Regions from separate parts of the Homo sapiens genome. Here regions 1, 3, 4, 5 and 6 are each linked to region 2. The links are contacts of gene promoters, found by promoter capture Hi-C in human tissues and cell types (Jung and others, 2019). All regions are on one chromosome and are shown on one strand. Each heading gives the region's core, a stretch centred on a gene start or on the middle of the fragment in contact. The rest is flanking DNA. Distances are from core to core; before and after follow the strand shown.

What was found. Contacts are between HindIII fragments. The study calls those that stand out against the background at their distance.
Region 1: the fragment with the promoter of CTDSPL2 here is called in contact with the fragment with the promoter of SERINC4 in region 2 in 1 of the 25 tissues and cell types used here (dorsolateral prefrontal cortex).
Region 3: a fragment that was not itself captured here is called in contact with the fragment with the promoter of SERINC4 in region 2 in 1 of the 25 tissues and cell types used here (heart right ventricle).
Region 4: a contact is called between a fragment that was not itself captured here and the fragment with the promoter of SERINC4 in region 2, in 1 of the 25 tissues and cell types used here (dorsolateral prefrontal cortex).
Region 5: a fragment that was not itself captured here is called in contact with the fragment with the promoter of SERINC4 in region 2 in 2 of the 25 tissues and cell types used here (hippocampus and mesenchymal stem cells).
Region 6: a fragment that was not itself captured here is called in contact with the fragment with the promoter of SERINC4 in region 2 in 1 of the 25 tissues and cell types used here (dorsolateral prefrontal cortex).

Annotation. Positions count from the first base shown.
Region 1 is chr15:44,426,364-44,429,063 of GRCh38, forward strand. It overlaps CTDSPL2 (CTD small phosphatase like 2), which reads left to right and starts at 1,266. Exons shown (of 13, transcript NM_016396.3): 1 at 1,266-1,409. RefSeq lists enhancers at 168-775, 430-659, 776-1,383, 940-1,319, 1,384-1,990. The HindIII fragment of the contact is 11,921 bases long and covers 1-2,700 here.
Region 2 is chr15:43,798,970-43,801,669 of GRCh38, forward strand. SERINC4 (serine incorporator 4) reads right to left here and starts at 1,251. Exons shown (of 12, transcript NM_001258031.2): 1 at 916-1,251; 2 at 341-517; 3 at 1-168. The coding sequence starts at 1,017. It overlaps HYPK (huntingtin interacting protein K), which reads left to right and starts at 1,630. Exons shown (of 4, transcript NM_016400.4): 1 at 1,630-1,815; 2 at 2,163-2,218; 3 at 2,549-2,600. The coding sequence starts at 1,654. It overlaps SERF2-C15ORF63 (SERF2-C15orf63 readthrough), which reads left to right. Exons shown (of 6, transcript NR_037673.1): 3 at 1,526-1,815; 4 at 2,163-2,218; 5 at 2,549-2,600. RefSeq lists enhancers at 348-1,048, 1,049-1,749, 1,657-1,906. The HindIII fragment of the contact is 6,811 bases long and covers 1-2,700 here.
Region 3 is chr15:44,582,868-44,585,567 of GRCh38, forward strand. SPG11 (SPG11 vesicle trafficking associated, spatacsin) reads right to left here. Exons shown (of 40, transcript NM_025137.4): 30 at 947-1,691. Among named protein-coding and RNA genes, the nearest start is that of EIF3J, 47 kb to the left of the region's middle. RefSeq lists a silencer at 1,528-1,577. The HindIII fragment of the contact is 6,491 bases long and covers 1-2,700 here.
Region 4 is chr15:44,730,579-44,733,278 of GRCh38, forward strand. It overlaps the pseudogene RNF4BP. Among named protein-coding and RNA genes, the nearest start is that of TRIM69, 4.6 kb to the right of the region's middle. The HindIII fragment of the contact is 3,243 bases long and covers 1-2,700 here.
Region 5 is chr15:44,466,429-44,469,128 of GRCh38, forward strand. The region is part of intron 2 of CTDSPL2 (CTD small phosphatase like 2); the gene reads left to right. Among named protein-coding and RNA genes, the nearest start is that of CTDSPL2, 40 kb to the left of the region's middle. The HindIII fragment of the contact is 6,187 bases long and covers 1-2,700 here.
Region 6 is chr15:44,315,803-44,318,502 of GRCh38, forward strand. All of the region lies in intron 1 of GOLM2 (golgi membrane protein 2), which reads left to right. Among named protein-coding and RNA genes, the nearest start is that of GOLM2, 28 kb to the left of the region's middle. The HindIII fragment of the contact is 5,521 bases long and covers 1-2,700 here.

The sequences.
Region 1 (2,700 bases), core at 16-2,515, 630 kb after region 2:
GATCACGAGGTCAGGAGTACGAGACCAGCCTGACCAACGTGGTGAAACCCCGTCTCTACTAAAAATACAAAAATTAGCCGGTCGTGGTGGCGCGCGCCTGTAATCCCAGCTTCTCGGGGGGCTGAGGCAGAAGAATCGCTTGAACCCGGGAGGTGGAGGTTTGAGCCGAGATCGCGCCACTGCACTCCATCCTGGGCGACAGAGTGAAGACTCCGTCTCGAAAAAAAAAAAAAATCATTACCTTTGGGGAAGGCAGTATCCGTGTCTGCCTGGCTCACTGTTTTACCCGTCGCACCTAGTTATTTTTTCAATAAATATTTCTTGATTGAATAAGGAGAGTGGCTTGGAGTTTCAGTGAAAAATGTTCTTCCAAACACTAGGCTTGGTTTTCCGATACCCCACTAGAACTGGATTCTCTGGACTGATACATTTTCACTCTGTGGAGCTGACCGTCCTTTGACCTAGGGTCGCAGGTGGGAGCCCACTGGCCTGAAAGATCCGAGTTTTCAACCTGCAGAATCACCGCCAACATAGGGTTGAGTCGAAGGGCATGAATATTTATGATCCAAAAGCGACTGCTACGCCCTCTAGGCAATGAGCTGGAAAGGGAACCTTCAAGGGCCACCGAAATCCCAGGAAAGGCGCCAGATTCGCTTTCTCCCGGCCTCAGGCAGCTCTCCCTACGAACTACCTCCTCCAGCGCGCCAAGCCGTTAGTCCCGCCTTATCCCCTCAGCTCCACCTACCCAGCGCGCCCACAGTTACTAAACCCTAGCCGCCAGGGTGCACTACGCGTTCCTAAGCCCCGCCTCCGGGGCAAGGGCGCGCTCCCCCTCCCAGCTCTGCCCAAGCAGTTCCGTTAGGAGCGGGAGGAAAAACCGTCCTTCGGGTCCCCGCCTCTCCACTCCTAACGCTTTACTCCCTACTCCCCCTGCGACCACTACACAGCCGGCTACGGAGGCCCCTAATGTACAAATATCCCCCAGGCCCTTGCTCATCCTGATAGGTTTTGTCCTTTCTTAATCGACCCAGTACTAAGGCCTTGTGTTCAGTTTTTCTCCAGGATTCAGACTAGAGAGTTTCTTCCGGCGTAAGGAACTTCAACGCTCTTCACGGAAGTAAAAGTGTTTTTTTGGTTGTTGTTGCCGTTGTGGCTGCCCGCATTCCTTCCCTCCCACCTCGCGGAATTGTGGCGGGAGGGGGAGGAGGAAGTCAGGGCGCCTGCGCGGAGAGGCCGCTTTCCATCCGGGTCCCTGTCCGTGCGGTGCAGCAGGTCGGTAGGCGGGAAATGGCGACTGGCTGAAGGAGCTGGTTCTGTTGCTGCTGCGGGGTAAGCGGGAAAGACACCACACATTGCGCAGTCGGGACCATCGCCGGAGCCTGAGGACACTTCTCTGTCGTCACAGTTAGGTAATCCCCTTCGTCCAGACGCCGCCGCTGCTTCCAATCTCAGTCCTCCTCCTCTTCCAGGGCCGTCTGCCGGGATCTCCTCCCCTTCTAAACCTGGTCCTCCAGCGGCTCTGGCGCCTTGGTAGGCATGCACTCTTTGGCGCCTCGTACGTCCACTGTGCGGAGCCGCTCCTGTCTGGACTTTCCCCTGGGAACAGAAAGGGAGCTCACTTCCCGCCAGCTTCACCTCTTAGGTTGCGGCCTGCGTTGTGATTTCTGGGGTTAGATTTCACTTTGCTACCCACCCCCACTCCGATCTCAAGTTCCTAGTCCCCAACCTCTGGGTAATTAAGTTAGAAGTTTAGCTTTTTTTAACCTTTTTGGCCCACCTCATGTTTTCAGCATTTCATTCTTTGGAGTAGGGTGCTTTTAGGGGGGCGTTGCTCTTATCTCAGTTCTTATAAACACCTTTTCAGAATCTGGAAGAAGGGATTTGACTAAGTTCTGTTTATCTTTTGTACTGTTAAAATCTCGAGTTGACATTGTTACTTTTTCAAATCGGGAGTGGTAGTAAAGAACAGTCCATGTGGAAGGCGTCTGGTTTCCACAGTGGTCAGTTAAAGAGTGAACCTTATTATCCTTAATATTCTCTGCTTTCTTTGGATTTTAAATGTCTGTATGGGTGTTTACTTTTGCATTCTTGACCAGAGTTCTGTGGTAAATAATTGCATAAGTAAATCTTGTTTATTTACTTCTCACCCTAGTGGTGGCTGGATGTGTGAATGATGTTAAACACTTCAGCGTACCTTAGGGAAACCTAAAGAGATCTAAGAGCTCGTAAACTTACCTGAGATCCTGAAATGAAACGTACTCAGTAGATGTTCCTCCGAGGCAGGGATTTATCTTCCTAATGCTGGTAACGCAGTACCAAGATGAATTTCTTCAGTGGGTATACAAATTAGTGACTTGAAATGATGGATTTATCTGTGTAATTTTCAAATTGTAGATTGCTTTGTCTCCCCATTCTTCGCCCAGTTTTAAATTTTCGTTCCTGGTCCATTTTTTATTCTTAGAAAAGGGAAATGGCGTGTTAAAGCTAGTTTTACTATATTTCTTTACTTTTTCTTTCCTTTTTTTTAAATTACATTGCAGACCAATTGTTCATAAAGAGAAGTAATAAGGAGGCTGTTGGTGTTTTCGGAATTTATTAATCATGTTGAATTTGGGATCTTTGTAGGTTTTTTTGTTTTCACTAATCAAATTAAAATTTTAAAAACTGTTCACATTGAATATCAGTTGATATTTATAACTC
Region 2 (2,700 bases), core at 1-2,500:
CTGTGCCCGCGGGCTGGTGGGGGAGTGGAGGTGGACCAGCAACACAGCCTGCAGCAGGTGGAAGGTGGCGGTTCCTGCACATACTCGGTACACAGCCCCAGAGCCACTGAGCACTGGACAGTCAGAGAGGCCAAACAGGTGGGCACACAACCCCGAGGGCATCTGGATCTGGGAGTGTGTGTGAGAGAAATGGCAGGACAAGTCATAATGCATGGAAAGGTACCTACTTGTCACGGGTATGACCACTCATTTGTCTCCTGCCCCCAACCGAAACCTTTTCTATCTTAGGGTTTTTCCTTTTATCTCTTCCCACCTGACAACCCGACCCCCTCTCACTTACCCTGTGTGTCTTGCCCCACACCCTTTCCACTACTGTCCTTGACAGCAGGAGGCAGCAGATTGCTGAGGCCCCCACATGGAGGAGGATGTAGAACAGGCGGCTGCAAGTGGATGCGGTGAGAGAGGGCCACCTAGAGTGGCAGCAGCTGGCACAAGGAGCAGGCCCACAGCAGCACACCTGGGAGTAGAGCAGATGCAAGGCAGCGAGGTGGAGACTTGCTGAGGAAAGGCATACGTTAATGTATGTGTGAGGTTAACCCAGGAGGTTGAATTCCAAAATTTCCCCTTCCCCTTTCTTCCTTTTACTCAGGTTCTGTTTCAAGCTGATTCCAGCCATTTGGGATTGCCGCCCACTGACAACTTAGTAGGGCTTTCATTATAAGCAGGCTTGAGATATCTGACCTTTCTCTCGACCTAAACACCTGGGGCTGGAAACATGGCGGGAGAGATTTACAGATTATACCTGGGGCAACGAACCAGAACGACATTAGAGGAGAAAAGAGGCCTGTCGTTTTTATTGGCTTCTGCACGTCTTCCTCCCCAGCTTCGGCCACTCTCCCCTTCGCACCCTCTCACCTGACAGAAGGGACTTTTCACTAGGACACTGCTGCCTCCGCTGTGCTGCTGTGCCAGGCCCAGGGAGGTGCCGGGGCTGGGGCCGGCCTTGGCACCCACCATCCTTGTCCCAGGGATTAGGCTTAGGTCCACCAGATGGAAGGCAGATGAGAGCAGCAGTTGCTTCTGTCCTCAGCCCATTGGACTGCCACTGTGTTGGGGCTGAGCACCCGGTCCCGGGCAGAATGGAGACGTCCGGAAGAGAACACTGACCTCCAGGTTGCGGTAAATGCAAATGCCCTGTGAAGGAGCTTTGTCCTTAGGGCCTCAACACTGCGGCCACTCAGGCTGTTCTCTCCAGATTAGGGGGCAGTTTGTCTATCTGGCCCCCTGTGGATTAGCATTCTTTATTGGTTTAGGATTAGACGTCATTCAGGTTGAACGGAGTTCCCTGAGGTGGGTGGGTGCGTGTTTATGTGTTGAGGGGACTATTCCTAGTTTATGAGGTGGTTAAGGATATCGGTGGGGTGGGCTGGAGCGGTGTCGGGTTAGGTCTGAGAGAAGGCCTCGCACAAAACACTGTACAAACCCGAAAGGAAGTCTGAGAGACGAACCGCCTTCCTCCCTGAAGCTTCTAGAACTGGAGCAGAAAGAAGGTGTGGCCCAGGGCCAGCCCCGCCTCCTCCCCGGGCGGAAGCTGTGTCAGTTGCCGGAAGTCGGCGTGAGGTGGGGCTTATGCGGCGGCGTGGTGAAATAGATATGGCGACCGAGGGGGATGTGGAGCTGGAGTTGGAGACTGAGACCAGTGGACCAGAGCGGCCTCCGGAGAAGCCACGGAAACATGACAGCGGTGCGGCGGACTTGGAGCGGGTCACCGACTATGCAGAGGAGAAGGAGATCCAGAGTTCCAATCTGGAGACGGTAAGGTTGGCCAAGAGCATGTCGGGGCGGGCTGAGAGCAGAGGGGGGCTCTGAGGCTGTAGCTGGAAGCCAGCGCTCCAAGACGGGGTTCTGATCCCGTTGGCAGGAGGAGGCAATAGGGTAGAGCCGAGGGAAACAGCGGTCACCGGAGCGCGCCGCTTGCCTAAAGGAGCTTGATAGTGGGCTTAAGGGGACCTCAGGTGCATAGAATGGAATTAAACATAGTCCTTGCTACCTGGTAACACTTGTCATCGTGAATCCATGCATGAACCGCTTGTTTTGTTGGCCTTTTAGATTATTGGGAATTGTGGGTAGCGGTGCAGTAACTAGACCTGCCTTTCCCATAGGCCATGTCTGTGATTGGAGACAGAAGGTCCCGGGAGCAGAAAGCCAAACAGGAGCGGTAAGTCTTCAGGGGCAGCCAACTTTAACAGTTCTTCCCTCCCCGGTCCCCAGACAAAAATAAAAACCATTATTAAGCCTTTATACCGTTCTTCAAATTTATCACCAATTCCTGCAGATCTAGGCGCCACAACTTTACTCTTGTTAGCAGAAGGCCTCCTGGCAACACCTGCTGCCAAGACTCCAGGGGAAAGGAGTATTAGTGGGAGTTTTTATTTTCAATCAAGGGTTTATCAAGATTTATTTACAGGGCACTTCTGGGAATGACCCTTCCTGGGAGTTTATGGTGTTGGTTGAGAATGAGGACTAATATATTTAAATATTTTTGCAGGGAGAAAGAACTGGCAAAAGTCACTATCAAGAAGGAAGATCTGGAGCTAATAGTGAGTGGTAGTGCCTAACTAGTGTATGCGGAGGGGAGGCTATTCTGCTTAATTTGGGTTGTTTCCTGAAACAAGCGGAGTCAGTATATTTGGTGGCACA
Region 3 (2,700 bases), core at 201-2,700, 780 kb after region 2:
TTTCAACATGATAAAGCCTGTCTTCAAAAACCTACAGCTAATACCATACTTAAATGATGAAAGATCAAATAATTTCCCTTTAAGGTCAGTAAAAAGGTACAGATGTCCACTCTCGCCACCCCTATCCAACACAGTACTGAAAGGCCTAGTCAGTGCAATAAAGCAAGAACAAGAAATAAAAGGCATACAGATTGGAAAGGCAGAAATACAACTCTATTTGCAGATGACATGAATGTCTATGTAGAAAATCTTGAGGAATCTACAAGAAATCTCCTAGAATAAGCAAGTTTAACAAAGTCATATAAAGGTAACATAAAAAACAGATTTCTGGCCGGGTGCGGTGGCTCACGCCCTATAATCTCGGCACTTTGGGAGGCCGAGGTGGACGAATCGCCTGAGGTCAGGAGTTCGAGACCAGCCTGGCCAACATGGTGAAACCCGGTCTCTACTAATACAAAAATTAGCCAGTAATCCCAGCTACTTGGGAAGCTAAGGCAGGAGAATCACTTGAACCTGGGAGGCGGAGGTTGCAGTGAGCTGAGACCACACCATTGCACTCCAGCCTGGGCGACAAGAATGAAACACCATCTCAAAAAACAAAAAACAAAAAACCAAAAAGAAAAACAAAAAGCCATATTTCTATATACTATCAATGTAAGACTGGAAATGATTAAATTTACAGATGTATAGAATATGTAGAATAAATTTCAGTGAACTAGCTACAAATCAGATAGATTCCCTTTAACTTTGAAACATAGCTAGTTTAAAAGACATAGATCTTTCTATTTCATTGCCTAGTTAATTGGCTAGTCTACAGATTACCTGGAAAAAAGTTGTTGTCCCCTTAACTTGGTAGAACTATTCTGCCACAAGGGTCCCTTCCTTCTTGGAGACAGTGCTAACAGTGCCATTTAAGACTCTGGGCCATCTGATCTCCTTCACTTACTGCTGTGGACTCTCCTTAGGGGAATGTCGGGTGCTTCTTCCTCAAGCAGCTCAGCACTTTGTAGGAGAGCATGGATCTCTGGGTGCAGATCCTCCATACTAGCTTCCCCTGAGGCCAGTGCTCTGCAGTGCAATACCAAGGCGACATCTGGATTATAAAAATGAAAATACCGGCATACTCTACTTGCTTCATGCACACAGCCATCATCCAGTAGGCGCCCAATCAAAAAGTTTAGTGACTCCTGCTCTTTCCAATCCAATCTATTCTCGCATGTCTCTTTGGATGGAAGGCTGTTAAGTTCTAAGTATTTTGATGTGTTCAGAGCAGCCAACTTGGAGAAGGAAAACTCACTGGCTAAACTATCAAAGGAAAGTTCACCACTAGTTGAGATCTGTCGAGAAAATCTGGGCTCTGTTTCCTCCTGATTTCTTCCAAGAGTGTGCTGGGTGATGCGGCACAGCCAGATCTGCTTCTCCAGCTCCTCCAGCTTATCCAAGGGCACCACGTCCTCCTGGGCAAGCCAGTGCCCTGCCAAGGTGAGCAGCAGATGGCGCTCCTCCATGCTGCTCCATCCAGTTGGGTGCTCACATGCCACATGGGCCTGGGTTGAGAAAAAGGAAGAAGCTGCTTTGCTTGAAATTGAATTTTTCTTAAAATTCTCATGGCATTTTTTCCAGAAGTCAATTCTTGCTTGTTTTAGTGACCACTGTTCAATGTGTTTTAGGGTCTGCATTTCCTGTGTTATCTGTGAAATTTAACAAAGCAGATTTTAGCCTTTCTTGGATAAAAAAGTATCATAAATGCTAATGTTCCCTAAGTATATCATACTTGTTTGGACAGGGTCTCAGTCTGTCACCCAGGCTGGAGAGCAGTGGTGGCGATCACAGCACACTGCAGCCTCAACCTGCTGGACCCAAGAGATCCTCCCACCTCAGCCTCCCAGGTAGCTGGGACCACAGGTGTGTGCCATCATGCCTGGCTAATTTTTAATTTTTTGTAGAGACAGGGTCTCCCTATGTTGCCCAGGCTGGTCTTAAACTCCTGGGCTCAAGCAATCCTCCTGCCTTGCCCTCCCAAAGTGCTGGGATTATAGGCATGAGCCACTGCACCTGGCCTTATCATACTTGTTAAAACCAAATCAAATCAGAGAACAGAGATTTGGCTACAGATGACCCTAGATATTTTATCTGGAAAGTTATGGTATGAAAAACAATTCTTGATTGATCTCATGGAATGGGGTTTAAGTGGAAGCCCCCTTATATTTAATTCTATTCAAAGGAAAATAGTTGTAGCATATCCTACAAACTAATGTTACATTTGCAGCACACATTTCTCAATCATGGGAATTGTAGGCTCATCCATTTCTGAAAGTAATGTGTGTGTCAAAAGTAAAAAAAAAAGTCTTATCTCCTATAAATTATACATCTCATTTGATTTACTGTTTAATGCTGATTTTAAAAGCTAAGATTTTAAATAACTTAAAAAGACCAATGAGGCTGGGCGTGGTGGCTCACGCCTGTAATCCCAGCACTTTGGGAGGCAGAGGCGGGCGGATCACAAGGTCAGATCAAGACCATCCTGGCTAACACAGTGAAACCCCATCTCTACTAAAAATACAAAAAAAAAAAAAAAAAAAAATTCAGCCGGGCATGGTGGTGGGCACCTGTAGTCCCAGCTACTCGGGAGGCTGAGGCAGGAGAATTGCATGAACCCGAGAGGCGGAGCTTGCAGCGAGCGGAGATCGCGCCACTGCA
Region 4 (2,700 bases), core at 103-2,602, 930 kb after region 2:
CCATCCTCTCTTTCCTAGAAGGCAATCTGGGATAAATTTTTCAGAACTCCATTTGTTGCCTCTGTTAGAAAGAAAACACTGGGCAAGATGAACCTGCAAGTAGAGTAAATGGTTTATTTCTTATTTGCTTTTAGGAGTATGTAAGGAGATTTTTTGGTCTCCCGTTTTTACTTTATAAAAAATGAGTGAGTGGGCCAAGCGCTGTGGCTCATGCCTGTGATCCCAGCACTTTGGGAGACCGAGGCAGGCAGATCACCTGAGGTCAGGAGTTTGATATCAGCCTGACCAACATGGCAAAACCCCATCTCTGCTAAAAATACAAAAATTAGCCGGGTGTAGTGCCATGCACCTGTAATTCCAGCTATATGGGAGGCTGAGGCATGAACATTGCTTGAACCCCGGGGAGACGGAGGTTGCAGTGAGCCAAGATTGCACCACTGCACTCCAGCCTGGGTGACAGAGTGAGGCTCTTTCTCAAAAAAAAAAAAAAGGAAAGAGAAAGCTCTTAATTGAAGTAGTAACCCTTTCTTGGGTGTTCAATGATATTGTGCTTCTCTTCATGTAAGTGCCCCTTAGATTCCTCCTCCTCACTACCATCAGGTCATAGAATAGGGAGGGGCACTCAGTTTCAACAGCAGTGGCCTCCAAATTTTGTTCAAATGCATAACTATAAAAAGTTTTTTGTATACATTCTCTATATATAGCTATACATTTTATACATACACTACTATCAGTCTTGATTTAGACATTACTAAAGCTTAATTTTTCTCTCATTTTTTTTCAGTTAAAAATTCAGATTGAACTATCTTACAAATGGCTCCCAGAAGATCCACTCCCTGTGGGAACACAGCAGTTGTGGAAGTGAAGACAGGACTGGACCCAGAATAAGGGTTCAAATATGTGGGGAAATCTGACCTCTAAATTCTTATAAGTCAGAGAGTGACTGAACAACAGCAGTGAGACATCGAAGAGTTTTAATATCTGCTGTAAACCTTGGCACAGATCATTTACTTCTCTAAGACTGAATCCAAAAAGCACAATGGAATACTATAATAAGCTGAGACAGCATGGTGAATTCCAGACAAGCCTGAGCATTCCCTATAGCCAGAGAAGGAGGCCCAACACCTAACATAGCCTTGGATGCAGAACTGATAGAACTTGGGGAAAGTGATGAAGTAGTTGACCTCACCTGTGAATCTCTAGCACCTGTAGTGATTGACCTAACTCACCGTGACTCTGTAGTGATTATTGAACAAAGGAGGAGGCCAAGAGCAAACACAAGGCCACTCCAAGACCACACTGGCAGTTGTGTGGTGAACAATGATGAGGAGGGAGTGAAAAGGGACAGAGATGTATGTATAACCAACAGTGCCCACCATAATTCCCTGCAAAAAAATTTTTTTTGTCATATACTACCTGGTTATATTCAGTGTCAAGTTTGCATGGATGGATGCTCAGAGATTGAACTTAGTATACAACACATCTACTCTATAGAATGTGGCCACATCTGTAGTCAGTGCTTCTGCACTTCCTTTACACATACTAACACTGCCCAGTTTGTTTGAAAAAAATCAGCCTCCATCAGTATCACTGCAGTTATATATGATGTATGCCTTATTGCTCAAGACAGATCCTGTGGCTGGATTTTTCCATGTCTTTGTGCAGGAACTATGGGTTGTTGGCATCCAATGCTCTGAGCTTAAAAATACTGATTTTTAAAATTGCTATCTGCAGTATATAAGAAACTCTTTGATTTCTCATATGCTCTGAGACTGCTTTTTGTTTCCTTTGGTTTTATGCTTCAGCTCTGGACTTCAGTTGCCAGAGTGTGCCAGATACTGGGGTCGTCCTTAAAGCAACTTTCCCTTTCTTATAGTCATCAATTTTTAGTTGGCCACATGTGGACATTCTGGACCACATAAATAAAGACAACACCCTAGAGATGGTGAAGTAAGTTGTAAACTAAAATCCTAAGCCCCCTAATTGACTGAATGGAACCCCTCTTGACCAAAGTGACCCCAGAAAAACCTTAAAACTGAGTTCCTGGCCATGACGGGATGGGAGGTCAGACACGCTTCATTATATCTCCGTCTCTTTTATGGTTTAGACACAACAACTGACCAGCATTAATGTCAAAATAAAGATCATAAGGCTGACAGAATAGACCCTTTGTGGCAATAACAAATTATTCGTAAGATCTAAGGTCATGCCAGGCAAGTGTTATGTCATGCACTCCTACACTTAAAGAATAAACTATGTTCTAACTGCCACAAGATTTTCTATTTATTTATTTATTTATTTATTTTTTGAGACGGAGTTCTGCCCTGTCAGTTTTTCTTTTTGTTTAGCAGCTAAACAAGCACCAGCTGAGATAAGCAATTTTTTTTTTTTTTTTTTTTTGAGTCAGAGTCTTGCTCTGTCGCCCAGGCTGCAGTGCAGTGGCCCGATCTCGGCTCACTGTGAGCTCTGTCTTCTGGGTTCATGCCATTCTCCTGCCTCAGCCTCCCAAGTAGCTGGGACTACAGGCACCCACCACCACGCCCCGCTAATTTTTTTGTATTTTTAGTAGAGATGGGGTTTCACCGTGTTAGCCATGATGGTCTCCATCTCCTGACCTTGTGACCTGCCTGCCTCGGCCCCCCAAAGGGCTGGGATTACAGGCGTGAGCCACCGCACCCAGCCACTTTCTCTTGATAAGAA
Region 5 (2,700 bases), core at 63-2,562, 670 kb after region 2:
GATTCATTCATATTCATTCATTCTCTTCCCACCACCACACACACAAGCATGTATTTATATTTAGTCATGTGTCACTTGACAATCTGAAATGCACTAATTGGCAATTTTGTCATCATGTGAACATCATAGTACTTATGTGAATCTAGATGGTGTATTCTACTACTTATCTAGGCTATGTGGTATAGCTTTTTGCTCCTAGGCTACAAACCTGTACAGAATGTTACTGTACTGATTGGCCGGGCGCGGTGGCTCATGCCTATAATCCCAGCACTTTGGGAGGCCGAGGCGGGCGGATCATGAGGTCAGGAGATCGAGACCACAGTGAAACCCCGTCTCTACTAAAAATACAAAAAAAAAAAAATTAGCTGGGCATGGTGGCGGGCGCCTGTAGTCCCAGCTACTCAGGAGGCTGAGGCAGGAGAATGGCGTGAACCTGGGAGATGGAGCTTGCAGTGAGCTGAGATTGCACCACTGCACTCCAGCCTGGGTGACACAGCGCGACTCCGTCTCAAAAAACAAAACAAAACAAAACATAATGTTACTGTACTGATTATCATGGGCAGTTGTAACACAATGTTAAGTATTTATGTTTCTCAGCATAGCTAAACATAGAAAAGAAACAGTAAAAATAGAGTATTATAATCTTACGAGACCACTGTTCTATATGTGGTCTGCTGTTGACTGAAACATTGTATGGCACATGATTCTATTGCCTTGCTCTGTCTGCTGAACTGTGTGCACATAGCACCCAGATCTTGGTTTCTAAATACTGTTCTCCACTAAAGGAACTAGGGTTCTGTCTTGTTTTATGCATATATAATTATGTCATATGCCAAATAATGAGAGTTTTGCTTACCCTTTGTCATCACTGGGACTTATTTTTTTCTTCACTTATTACATTGGTTAGGATCTGTATTACCATGTTCAGTAGCAGTGGTGAGAACAACACCCTTGCCTTGTCCTTAGGGGAAGAGAATTTGTTTTACCATTAGGTATGATGTTAGCTAGATGTTTTTCTTAGTTATCTTTTATTAGTTGGTGGAAGTTCTTTTCTATTCCTGTTTGTAAAATGTTTTTATTTTGTTGTTGAGTTTTCTCAAAGGCTTTTTGGCTTCAGATTTCTCTTATTCTTTTCTTATTTATTTATTTATTTTATTTTTTTTGAGACGGAGTCTCACTCTCTCGCCCAGGCTGGAGTACAGTGGTGCGATCTCAGCTCACCACAACCTCTGCCTCCTGGGTTCAAGCAATTCTCCTGCCTTAGTCTCCCAAGTAACTGGGATTACAGGCACGTGACACCATGCCTGGCTAATTCTTTGTATTTTTAGTAGAGATGGGGTTTCACCATGTTGGCCAGGCTGGTCTTGAACTCCTGACCTCAAGTGATCTACTCGCCTCGGCCTCCCGAAGTGCTGGGATTACAGGCATGAGCCACTGTGGCAGGCCCCTCTTATTCTTTTAATGTAGAGTAGTACATAAATTTTTTTTTGAATGGAAATCGTAACTTGGAGTTGATTTGCTGGGGATTTTTTTTTAAGAATTTTTGTATCTGTATTCATGGAGGATTTCTTCTGTAGTTTTGTCTTGATTTGTAATGTTTTTAAATTTTGGGATTAAGATTAAGCTGGTGCCATAAAACAAGTTGAGGACTGTTCCTCCTCTTCTGAAAGAGCTTGTGTTCGATTGGTGTTATTTCATTCTTAAATATTTGGCAGAATTCACTGTTGAATTCTGGAGTGGGATTTCTAAAATGTAACTGGAATTTTCTTTGTGGGGTATCTTTTACTGTAATTTAGTTTCTCTAATATAGATGAGATTATTTAGCTTTTCTCTTTCTTGTTTTAGTCATACATGTTTTTAAGGAATTTAAGTTGATTTATTTGACATCATATTTTGTTGGTATTTATTAATTTAATACTGTCTATAGAATTTGTAATGGTGCTCCTCTTTTCATTCCTGATCTAGATAATTTATTGATCTTTATTTTGATGAGTCTTGCTTGGGTTTATCAATTTCATTATTCGTTCAAAGGGATTTTTAATATTAACTGTTCATTCTGTTTAATTGATTTCCACTATTTTCAGTATTTTCTGTTTTCAGTTTGATTTACTTTTACTTTTGTAGCTTCTTGAAGTGAGAGCTTAAATCAGATATCAGTAAACATTTTCTATAAATATTTCAGGTAAGAAATATTTTAGGCTTTGTGGACAATATTGTCTCTGTTGCAGCTACTATTCAACTGCCACTGTAGACGGCTACATAAATGAATGAACATGGCTTTGGACACGGGTACAGTAGTTCCCCCCTATCTTTGGTTTTGTGTTCCATAGTTTTAGTTACCTGTGGTTGCCAGGGTCTGAAAATATTAAATGGGAAATTTCAGAAATAATTGGTAAGTTTTAAATTAGTCACCTTTCTGAGTAGCATGATAAAATCTTACATCATCCTGCTCCATCACAACTGGGACATTAATCATCCCTTTGCCCGAGTATCCATATGTATATGCTGTACTCCTGTTAGTCACTTAGTAGCTTTCTTGTTTATCATATCAGCTGTGTAGATACCACTCTGTTTGTATTCAATTAATCCTTATTTTACTTAATAATGGCCCCAGAGTACAAGACTAGTGATGCTGATAATTGTTCTATTTTATTGGTAATCTCTTACTGTGTCTAATTTATAATTCAAGGTTTATCATAG
Region 6 (2,700 bases), core at 93-2,592, 520 kb after region 2:
GAGAGGGATAAGGTAAAGCCTAAAGGCAATGACGGCGATAACAAGGGGAAATAAATGAAGGCGCTCAAAAGAAACCTTGAAGAATAATTAAAATTGTGCAAATATGGATAAAGTATAACTTAAGGTAGGAGAGTGTGTAGTACAAAGAGTATGGGACATAAAAGTCTAGGGGATCATTGAGCAAACATTTATTCAGTGTTTATGGGTATCAGGAAGTTTATGTGCTGTTACCTGTGTGGAATATATTTAGAAAAAAAGTGAAAATATTCTGGAAGCATGATCAGTTCAACAGAGAATATGTGTGGCAAAATGAAGATAATCTCTTTTTCTAGTCATGTAATAGTAAGAACTCCAATTAATTTCTCAACAGCAGGGACGTTTTGGCAGTCATTTAGAAGATAAGCATATTCCTAATGACCACAAGGAAATTAAAACTGTGAGGAGAGAGCTGGGTGTGGTGGCCTGAGCCTGTTGTCACAGCTACTGAGTTCGAGTTCAGCCTGGGCAACACAGTGAGACTCCATCTCTAAAAAAAATGAAAAAACAGTGAACTATGAGAAGGAATAGTTAGAAGGGAAGTTAAGCTTTCTTTTGAAGGTGAGGGGATGGTGGTGGAGATATTAAATGAAGGCTCTCAGAGGAAGGGTTAAAGCCAAAGGAGTTAAAGAGCTGGCCCGGCGCGGTGGCTCACGCCTGTAATCCCAGCACTTTGGGAGGCCGAGGCAGCCAAATCACGAGGTCAGGAGTTCCAGACCAGCCTGGCCAACAGGGTGAAACCCCGTCTCTACTAAAAATACAAAAACTTAGCTGGGCGTGGTGGCAGGCGCCTGTAATCCCAGCTGCCCAGGAGGCTGAGGCAGGAGAATGGCATGAACCCGGGAGGTGGAGGTTGCAGTGAGCCGAGATTGTGCCACTGCACTCCAGGCTGGGCAACAGAGTGAGACTCTGTCTCAAAAAAAAAAAAAACAAAAAAGAGCTAAAAGACCAGACTGGGCAACATGGCAAAACCCTGTCTGTACCAAAAATACAAAAATTTAGCCAGGAGTGGTCATCTGTGCCTGTGGTCCCAGCTACTCGGGAGGCTAAGGTGGGAGGATCACATGGGCTTGGGAGGCAGAGGTTACAATGAACTGAGATTGTGCTACTACACTCCACCCTGGGTGACAGAGGGACCCAGGCTGAATATATATATTCAACTATAGATTGAATTTCCCCACCTCCATTAGAATTTTTTTCCAATGTATAAGAATATGAAAGAGACAGTTCAGGGAAGCTGAAGCCACTCACAGCCTAATATTTAAGAAGAGCATACCTCTACCAATTTCAGAAGCAGATTTAAAATGGAGTACAGAGAACCTGGCATAGCATCATAAAAATTGATTTAAAAAAGTGAGACCCCCCCATCTCTACAAAAGACAAAAAAAATTATCTGGGCGTGGTAGCACATGCCTGTGGTCCCAGCTACTTGGGAGGCTGAGGTGGGAGGATCTTTTGGGCCTGAGAAATCAAGGTTGCAGTGAGCTGTGGTCATGCCACTGCACTCTAGCCTGGGCAGTAGGGCAAGACCCTGTCTCAAAAAAAGTGTTTTTTTAAATAAAAAACCAAAGTGTTGAAAATGAATACAAAGGAAGATGATGTTCTTGGAAGGGCAACAAGTACAAAAAGAGATTAGGTTCTGCAAATGAAGGAATTGGGAAACAAAGTAAAATACAGGCTAATTGGAAGTTATTACGGAGCAGTTCTGAGTGAGCAAACTGATCAAATACTGTAGTTGTTGGTGTCAGGTTTTTTTTGCTTCCCCTGTAGCTTTCCCTCAGTGATCTCATTCCTATGACCTGGATTACCATTTGAATGTGAATGGCTCTCTGGTCGTCGCCCGAGCTCCATATGTCCAACTGCCTACTGAAGATCTCTTCTTGGATATGTCACAGATGCCTCAAAATCAATAGGTCAAAATCTCAAAAAATCATTTCCCCAATTCTCTCCCTGACCCCAAGTCTGTTCCTCTTCCTGTGTTTCCCTATTACAGAAAATTATATTCTTACTCATCTAGTCACCCCGATTAGAAATCTAAGCATCATACTTGATGTTTCTCCTTTTACGCCTGTATATAATCAATTCCACAAGACTATTCTTCCCCTTTAATATCTCACATGTATTTACCTCTCTTTTCTGATTCTATTAGTTTAGACCAGAAATTGAAAAGACCTTTTCTGTAAAAGTCCAGATAGTAAATACTTTAGGCTTTGCAGGCCATATAGTCTCTGCCACAACCACTGTAGCTCAAAAGCAGCCACATACAATATGTAAACAAATTAGTGTGGCTATTTTCCCATAAAACTTTATTTGTAGACACTGAAGTTTCATTTTCATGTAATTCATATATCATAAAATCTTCTTTTGATTTTTTCCTTCAGCTATTTAAAAAAAAATGTAACAGTCATCCTTAGCTTCCTTCCCTACAAAAACAGGCTCACAGGCCATAGTTTGCCCACCTCTGACTTAGACCAACATTCTCACCTATGATATGGCAGTAGTACTTGGTCTCCCTCCTTCTCATCTTGCCCACTCTGGTCTACTCTTCATGTTGCAGCCAGATTGACTTTTTAAAATTGCAAATTGGGACTGGGTGTGCGTGGCTTACGCCCATAATCCCAGCACTTTGGGAGGCCGAGGTGGGTGGATCGCCTGAAGTCAGGA